Linked DNA regions of Homo sapiens: region 2 is linked to region 1. Evidence: promoter capture Hi-C in human tissues and cell types (Jung and others, 2019). All regions are on one chromosome and are shown on one strand. The core of a region is centred on a gene start or on the middle of the fragment in contact, and the rest is flanking DNA. Distances in the headings are between cores, read along the strand shown.

Region 1 (4,663 bases), core at 1,775-4,274:
AAAAAAGAAAAAAAAAAAAAGAAAGAAAGAAAATATATATACCATGAAATACTACTCAGCCATAAAAATGAATTAAATAATGGCATTCACAGAAACATGGATGGGGTTGGAGACCATTATTCTAAGTGAAGTAACTCAGGAATGGCAAGCCAAATATTTTATGTTCTCCCTTATAAGTGGGAGCTAAGCTATGAGGACGCAAAGGCATAAGAATGATATAATGGACTTTGGGGATTCTAGAGGAAAGGTAGGAAGAAAATGAGGGATAAAAGACTACACATGGGGTACAGTGTACACTGCTCAGGTGATGGGTGCACCAAAATCTCAGAAATCACCACTAAAGAACTTAGCCATGTAACCAAAAACCACCTGTTCCCCCAAAAACTATCGAAATAAAATTTAAAAATTTTAAAAATGGCATTGAATAAAAATAATTAAGAAGTGGCCAGGTGCAGCGGCTCATGCCTGTAATCCTAGCACTTTGGGAGGCCTAGGTGGGTGAATGGCTTGAGCTCAGGGGTTCGTGACCACCCTGGGTGACGTAGTAAGACTCTGTTCCAAAAAAAAAAAAAAAAAATTTAAGAAGTGTTAAATTCTCTTACCTGCTGAACTAAACTCTGAAAAAATGTCTTTATTTGTTTGAGGTTTTCCATCAGGATCAATGTCCATGATGGCACGCCACAATTCAGAGAATCTAGCTCGTTTTTCTTTGGGCATATATATTCCATGCCATAGTGCTTTCAGCATGTAGTCAATATTGATCAGAATTTGCCCAATTCTGGTATCATAATAAGCTGGAGGTAATTGACAAGAAGAACTCTGATCATAATTAGCTTCTAAACTGATGGAAGGGATTTGATTTAGGCAATAAATTCCAATAGCCAACTCTCTTATCATTTGATGGACCTCTCTATAGTCTAAGAGGGCAGTAGGGTCCACGGGAGTCAGTAGGATTGCAGTGGAGAAGCCTACGTTATTCATTTGACTCATAATTCCACATGGGAGGTCTACTTGAGAGCGCACATCCTCTTTGGCAGACAACCAGCTAACTAGTGCAGTAGTTAGTAACTCTTGTATTTCACTCCGATCATATTTTTCAAAAAAAGCAGATGCATTTCTTTGTATTGCTAAATTTTCCAGGTAGGTGTCTTCATCCTGAACTTGCTCAAATCTAGGTAATCCTTTTTTGGGCAATCTTAACATTTCTAATTAAATCTAGTGTGTCCTTTTTGAAGCTTCTGCAATGAATAAGAAGGAAAAGATTATCAATAAAATCTGACATGCCAATGAAACTGGATTTGTCTAGAAATAAATCTGTACCTTTCACCTACATAAGATTAATTTTTCATGGTCAACCATTATAGTTTTCAAATTAAAAATAACTGCAGTATATGAAAACTGAAATTTGAATTAAAATAATTAAAATTATAAAACCTTTATCATTAACCATGTTCTGCTTTTCAAAGAATTCAAAAGACAAGAAGATGTATGTCAAAAAGAAACGTTAAGTTTATCTGTGAGAAGCTACTGTTACATACCTATTTTGTTGTTGGAGAGGCATTCTTTTGTATATGTTCGTGTTAGTCTGTTTGTGTTGCTATAAAGGAATACCTGAGACTGCATAATTTATAAAGAAAAGAGGTTTATTTGGCTCACAATTCTGCAGGCTGTACAAGCATGGCACCAGCATCTGCTCAGCTTCTTGTGAGACCAAGCTTACAATCATGGCGGAAGGGGAAGGGGAGCCAGTGTGTCACATGGTAAGAGACGGAACAATAGAGAGAAAGGGGAGGTGTCTACTCTTAAACAACCAGATCTTTCATGAGCTCAGAGGTAGAGTTCACTCTGCCAGGAAAGCACCAAGCCATTCATGAGGGATCCACCCCCATAATCCAAACACCTCGCACCAAGCCCTACCTCCAACATTGGGGAATCTATTTTAACATGAGATTTGGAGGGGATAAATATCCAAATCATATGGATATTTATTTTGTTTTCAGTTTTTTAAAGCAAGACTATACTGACCTGCATGAAAGAAAAGAAAAGGGTGGGGCGCAGTGGCTCATGCGTGTAATCCCAGCACTTTGGGAGGCCAAGTCGGGCAGATCAACTGATGTCAGGAGTTCGAGAACAGCCTGACAAACATGGAGAAACTCCGTCTCTACTAAAAATACAAAATTAGCCAAACGTGGTCGTACATGCCTGTAATCTCAGCTACTCGCGGGGCTTGAGACAGGAGGCTGAACCCAGGAGGCGGAGGTTGCGGTGGCCTGGGCAACAAGTGTGAAAAACACTGTTTCAAAAAAAGAAAAAAAAAAGAAAAAGAAAAGGAAAGAAGCATTTGCTTAACCTTCAATTTCTGTGCCAATGAATGCCTGTCTATTCCTGAAATAATAATAACCACAACTACTATTTATTGAGCCAGGTTCTTTACTATATAATGGTTTGATTTATTTCATCTGATTGGTCTCTATTATATAGTGGTTCTCAAAATTTAGCTTGTATCAAAATCACCTGGGGCTTGTTCAAATACAAATCGCTGAATCCCACCACTGAGTTTCTGATTCAATGAGCTGTAGTGGGGCCAGAAAATATGCGTTTTAGTAAAGTTACAGGAAATGCTGATAGTGCTGGTTTGGGCGCCACACCTGAGACCCCAGGTCAGTGAGTCAGACCTTGTTATGCCCACTTTATAGAGGCAAAAACGGAGACCAGGAGGTTGCAGGACAAGTCTGAGGTTTTACGCCTTTCAGAAACAGAACCCACGTCTGTCCAGTCAAGCCCGGGACCCACGTCCAAAAGCAGCTCGCGTCAGCCATGGGCACGGGAAAGGGGAAAAAACAAGGAAAGGGGAGGAACCTACTCTAGAATGGCTGTTTTCTTGTCCGGGAGAGGGACGCTGCGTCCGCGGCGTTCCCGTGGGGCTGAGAACAGTCGTCGCCGCCTCAGATGGCTTCTCGCGGGGCCTTGAATCCGCCCTCAGGGCCTCCGCAAGGGCGAGCGGGAGGCGCACCGGAAGGAACTGAGAGGAACTTTCAGGGCTTTTCGCCCCACCGTGGCGGCCCGGCCCTCCTCGCCTCGCCGGCCAACACTGCCGCCGCCCGGGCGCGGGTCGAAGCGGTTGGTCCTCCGGGCCCTGGGGTGGCTGGGCTGCTCCTCGGGCGGAGCCTGCGGGCGACTAGGCCTGGTGCGTCCCGCAGCAGCCGCAGCGCCCCCAGGCGGCGCCCGGCCCCTTGGCTGGCTCAGACCCCCCGCGTGCGCATCATCCCAAGCCCGCTTAGCGCTTAGTCCAGCGGCATGCCGTGGGCACTGTGCCGCCCTCACTATCTGCCTCTGCTAAAACACCGAAACAGAGTAGCAGAGGAGACAGCGCCGGGCGTTGAGGCAGTCCCGAGTTGGAATACCACCTCCATCATCATTCTTTCATTCAACAAGCATTTATGGAACACCTATTATGAGTCAGGCACCCAGCTACAAGCTGGAAACCCTAGAAAACAGGGCAGACACGAAACCCCAAGGAGCTTACAGTTGAACAGATCATCTCACAGCTATATTTAACAGTGTGCCAATATTAGATGGAATGACAGCACTCGAATGAAAGCTAACCTAGCCCAGGGCTAGGAAAGGCTGCCTAAGGAAGTGCCCTTTTCCCCTCCGAGCCTAGAAGATGGAAAAGAGCTACCCAAGCAAAGGACTGGACAAGTAGCTTTTCAGGAACAGGGAACAGCAGGAGAGAAAGAATTGAAGTGAGAACAAAGTTGAAATGGTTGAGAAACCGCAAAACCCTGCTTAGAGAACAAGAGAGATGTGGGCACAAACCGAGCTGCTGAGGTGCGCGATGGACAGATCATGCAGGCTGCTGAGTAATGATTTTGAATTTCATCCCAAAGGATTAGCCTACAGTAGTGGCAGTGGAGGTGGGGCTCAGGGACTGTGGACAGATTTGAAAAATAATGAGGTTGCCTGTTGGTGACAGATTGGGGATATGTTGAAAAAGAAGGTTGTGTCCAAGTCAGAACCACATTTCTGTCAGGAGCAACAGGATATCAGGGCAAGATTAAGAGTTCAGTTATGTACTAATTGACCTTGAAGTACCTGTGAGAGAAATTGAGATGTGAGATATGCTTTAGATAAACAGTTCTGGGCTAAGAATGGCAGTAGGGGTTAGATGTATAAATTTTGGCAGATTTATAGTAATTGAAGCCAGGAGTGGGGTTGAAATCACCAAGGGAGAGCGTGCAGAATGAGGAGTTGAGAACCAAGGATTAGAGACCTGAGAAATTTAACATTTAAACGTCAGGTAGAGAGAGTGAAGTCAGCAAAGAAGACAAAAAGAACAGCCAAGAAGGCAGGAGGAAAACCAAAATTGGTCACAGAAGCCAAAGAAGTGTGTGGAAAAAAAAAAAGGAATGGCCAACTTTATCGGATGCTGCTGCTCGGTCAGGGGAGATGAGAACAAACTTCCACTGAATGCAGCAGCTTGGAAGTTCTTGGTGACTGTTTGGGGCAGAATTTCTCTTCCAGTAACCATGTCATTATTTTAGCTACTATGGAAATAAATATTAATAAATTTATGAGGACTATTCCAGGGCTTTTTTTTTTACAAAGATTTGCATGTTTGCACTTAAGAAATATGAACCATATATGTACATTCTCCTACTTC
Region 2 (4,731 bases), core at 471-2,970, 200 kb after region 1:
GACTTAATAATCCTATAGCCTTTAAATCTATTTTAAAACTTATGAAATAAAAAGAAATACAGTGGAAGAATACTCTAAAAAAGGATAAACACAAACGATCCTGTTTCCCAAAAGAGAGTGTCCAAACCTGTCTTAAGAACTGCTTTACCTCTTAGTCTCTTTAGACAGCAGCAATGAATTTACAAACATGGAGCACAGGAAAGCAGCAGATGGCAGGACATGGGCTGGAGTGTGAAGAAGCTGGAGTCAAACAGAAAACACGGTTGCAATTAAAAAGCTTATCCTCCACCGCAGTCTGTTCCTACAGTGTCCTCACGGAGTCCCTTTTATTGTAAATGCCAAGAGTGAAACATGAAAAGGCTTTCCCTATACAAAAGCCAAACCAAAGAAAAATACATTTCTACCTTCCTACATTTATGCCAACAACCACCCCTATCCCTACACCAGGTCCAGGACAAAACAATCCCAGATCACAAGGTTAAGTTACTCGGTTTGTTGTTAGTTATTTAGTTTGGGTATTAAAGTTGTACAGCATACAAATTACAGATTGACTGTGTCAAAACTCCAACTTCAGGTGCTTTAAGTGCATTTAATCTGTTTCACATGGTTTTCATAATTACTTACCTCACTAATTGCGGGTATGTTTTCTGTTAAGGGTAGTTGTACCAGCTCATTCTCTAAAGTTTCGTTTAGTTTTTCATCCTGCTGTTGCCTGTGTTTTCCCAATATGAAATAAAATGGGGTTGTGGGAAGACTTTCTTCTGCTAGCAGCTTTAAGGATTTAAGACAAAGAGAAATTATTTCAGAAAAAAGGAAGAACTGTGTTTGACTTAACAGTAAGTACTACAGAATCATAAAAAGTCTGGGATGAAAGGAATTTTACAAATTATCCAGTTAGTATGATCCTCTCATTTCACAGAGAAAGCAACTGAGGCCTAGCATCCCACTTATGAGAAGAGCTAACAGTGAACACTTAGATGACAGAATAATACATGCATTTACCACTGCTTCTTCACCAAATCCCACAAAAATGACAGCAAAAGGGTTTTCAAAGGGCACATACTCACAATGATAGAAAATGAGGGAAAAGGCCTTAACAGTAACATGTTGGAAACTGGAGAGCAGGCTGAAGGATGGTATTGAACTTAGTAGACCTGAGAAAGCACAATTCTAAGCTGGCTGTAGGGAAAGCCAAGAAGCATCCCAATTCATACTACAGAATCCTGCAAATGCTCAGGAGTTGGTAATAATAGTAACTCTGGATGTGGGGTGAAAATGGGACTAGACAAACCAGACGGGCTGGTGGAAAGTCTACTTAGAAAGCACCCCACAGCTCCTCCTCAGCCCCAGCAGAGGGCTCTACATCTTTAGGCTAGGTATGGATAGCGGTGGTGGTGGTGGTGGTATCTTCATATCTAGGCAGTTGTACTTCATGTAGGGGGTTCTCAGAACACTGACAGGTAGGTCTAAATCCTTTAGGCAGGAACGCATAGAATTTTTTATGGTTAATTTGACCAGCCTAAGTAAGACCTAAAGATACAGCTAACCTTGGAATAACAAGGGTTCGAATAACACGTCTATGTGGAGTTTCTTCTATTTCTGCCAGACCTGAGATGGCAAGATCAACTCCTTCTCTTCCTTAGCCTACTCTATGTGAAGATGAGGATGAAGACCTTTGTGATGATCTATTTCCACTTAATGAATAAATATATTTTTCTCTTTCTTATAATTTTTTTTTTTGAGATGGAGTCTTGTTCTGTCACCCAGGCTGGAGTGCAGTGGTGTGACCTAGGCTCACTGCAACCGCCATCTCCCAGGTTCCAGTGATTCTCCTGCCTCAGCCCCCGAGTAGGTGGGATTACAGGCATGCACCACCATGCTTGGCTAATTTTTGTATTTTTAGTAGAGATGGGGTTTTGCCATGTTGGCCAGGCTGGTCTCGAACTCCTGACCTCAAGTGATCTACCTGCCTTGGCCTTCCAAAATGTGGGATTACAGGCAAGAACCACCGTGCCCGGCCTCCTTATGATATTTCTTAACTTTTTTTTTTCCTCTAGCATACTTTATTGTAAGAATACAGTATATAATACATATAATACAAATAACTGTTATCAGTAAGGCTTCAGGTTAAGTTTTGGGAAGTCAAAAGTTATACATAGGTTTTCAATCTCTACATTGTTCAAGGGTCAATTGTAATGACATTTGAGACTGTCTCAATAAATTAGCTCAGATAGTGGAAGCCAAGGGATAAGTTCTGCACAGGCAGAGAACTTCCAAGTGGCTTTTTAACCCACTTTTAAATCCAAAGACAGCCAAGAATCATCAGACTCTGATGAAAACCTCTAGATGAAAGGCAGCAACCAAGACAAACCAAAAACAAAAAAAAATGTAATGGAAACAGACCATGAAAAAGAAAAAAAGATTTGATGATAAAGATGAGGAAATCTTCCAGAAAACAAACAAAAAATAGGCAAAACAATAAGAATAATAGAGAACCATTCTAGAAAGTCCAGCACTAAATAATAGGAGTTCTAGAAAAAGAATAGAGAAAGAAGTAATTAGCTCCTCCTTAGTTCTCTACTCAAAACTCTCCAAGGGGCCCTATATGTAACTCAGAGAAAAAGTCAGAATCTTTTCAATAAGGCCTACGTAGACTTCCCTGTTTAAAATTACAAGCTGCATCCCATGCATGCCATCTTTTCGTCTATTCTCTACCCCACCACAATTCTTACCACCTTCTCTACTCCATATTTTACTTAATGCATGTTGTTTACTGTCTCTATCTTCTGGTGGACTGTGAATACCGCAAGTTTAGAGACTTGACTACTTTTCTCACTACTGTATCCCAACTGTCTACAATGGTCCCTGGCGTACAGTAAATAATTAACAAAAAATTATTGAATTAATCCAATGAGTTTTAAAGGAAAATAAACAAGCCAAGTTACAGACAAAGGAACAAGAACAAGAATGGTATTGGTCTTCTAGTAATAATGGAAATTATAAAATAATAGGACAATAATGTCAAAGTTCTGCGAGAATGATTTTCAACCTACAACTCTATAATAATCAAGTGAAAGAGAATAAAAACATTTCCAAACATGCAAGGTCTTAAATTGACCTCCAATGCACTAAAAGAATGCTTCACCAAAACAGGGGAGTGACCAAAGAAAGAGAAAAACCACACCACTAATAGAGTAGAGGTCAAACAAATCCCCAGAATGATGGTGAATATAGATCCTAGGATGACTACTGTGTAGCAGGTTTCCAGAGCAATCAGTCCAGACTGAAGACAGTCAGAAGGCTCTTGGAAATAATCCTTTATGACTTGAAAGAATACCTAATGTATCTGAAAACACTGAGAGAATACTTACACAACTTGAGCAGAATTTGGGGTTGAATTACATGAGAATAGAAAACTAAGCAAATGAAAAAACAAGGCAATCATTAACTCCACAGAAAATAAAAACTTGGTCACAAAAGGAAAAACAATCTGCCTATTACTACATGGCTTGGCTATGAATTGTGTTAACACAGCTATGACAATGACTACTGAACTAACCAATTTAACATTTACCCATATGGGGAAAATTGGGGGACAAGTAGGGAAAGTGTGTGTTGTGTATATGCAGGGAGTGCTGATGTGAAAAACAGCTAAAAATTCAGCGTCAATAGATCAGAGTTAACAGATAATACCTAAATCTGAAAAACCTATAATTAGAAATATAAACATTTCTTAGAGATTTCTTAGAGATTCAGAGTTAAATAAAAACTTCAGCTAAAAGATTTGAGAGTGATTGTCTTTGTGGGTAATGGTAGTGGTGTTGGAGAAGTTTTTTCTGAAGAGCCTTGTAAAAATATTTGACTCTTTAAATCAGAATTATATATTACTGATATTATAAATTAAAATAATTTTAAAAGAGCACTAAAACTTTCAAGAGACACATATCAGTTTATAAGTATATGGCTTTTAATTCTATTTTAGGGCCAAGTGAAATATTTTTTTCATAGTTGACTTCTAAAAGGTAATTGTATCCTTTTAGGGAGGCAATACATCCTGCTATGAATGGCTAAAACATACCTGTTTGCTTGTTGGTGTGAGTTTTTCTTCTGGAGACTTTGTACTGAATGTCAATAAACTCTGAAAAGAGAGAATTAATGATGCAAAAGACAAACTGTAGAGTGCAAATCTAAACAAGGTGTTACAGGGTGTTAAAAAATGAGAAGGTCAAATTTTTCACTTTGATATATATATTTGACAACAGAAAAGGAATAAAAGATTTAAACCTATTTAATAACCACGATGAGAGTTACAAGATTATGTCTGAGAGATACTTAAGAAATGGTAATGAATAAAAAATATAACTGACAGACAAAACTCAAGCCACCATTTTAAAAATTGCAAATCAAACACTGAAAAAAAAAAGAAAAAGAAAAAAGAATCATGCAATTTAAAGTATTTTAGTTGTCTTCTGCTTTTTTGCTGTCACAGAGTTAATACAAGCAATACCTAAGGAACCTCAAAAGTGTGGGGTAAAACGGTAATACATTTACATTAATAATGCTGCTGTACTGAGCATATTAGACAATTTTTTGGGAAATAATCCTTTAATGAAGCTGTTTCACCTAGAAACAAACTCACACCAATAGTCATGGGCTATTAGTCTAAAATTCCATGTACAAAGTGATCGCCTTTTTTGAGGGAGGCAGTTACCTGTGATTTTGTTAGGAAGT

The links. The method cuts DNA at HindIII sites, captures the fragments that hold promoters and counts their contacts. A contact is called where the count stands out against the background at its distance.
Region 2: a fragment that was not itself captured here is called in contact with the fragment with the promoter of ANKAR in region 1 in 2 of the 25 tissues and cell types used here (IMR-90 fibroblasts and mesendoderm cells).

The regions. Positions count from the first base shown.
Region 1 is chr2:189,673,031-189,677,693 of GRCh38, reverse strand. It overlaps ANKAR (ankyrin and armadillo repeat containing), which reads right to left and starts at 3,024. Exons shown (of 23, transcript NM_001378068.1): 1 at 2,864-3,024; 2 at 603-1,238. The coding sequence starts at 1,203. LOC105373793 (a long non-coding RNA gene) reads left to right here and starts at 3,409. Exons shown (of 2, transcript XR_923692.3): 1 at 3,409-3,863; 2 at 4,301-4,574. RefSeq lists an enhancer at 2,639-2,898 and a silencer at 2,949-3,368. The HindIII fragment of the contact is 7,879 bases long and covers 1,476-4,663 here.
Region 2 is chr2:189,470,226-189,474,956 of GRCh38, reverse strand. WDR75 (WD repeat domain 75) reads right to left here. Exons shown (of 21, transcript NM_032168.3): 17 at 4,712-4,731; 18 at 4,079-4,138; 19 at 625-771; 20 at 149-240. Among named protein-coding and RNA genes, the nearest start is that of WDR75, 31 kb to the right of the region's middle. The HindIII fragment of the contact is 7,458 bases long and covers 1-4,731 here.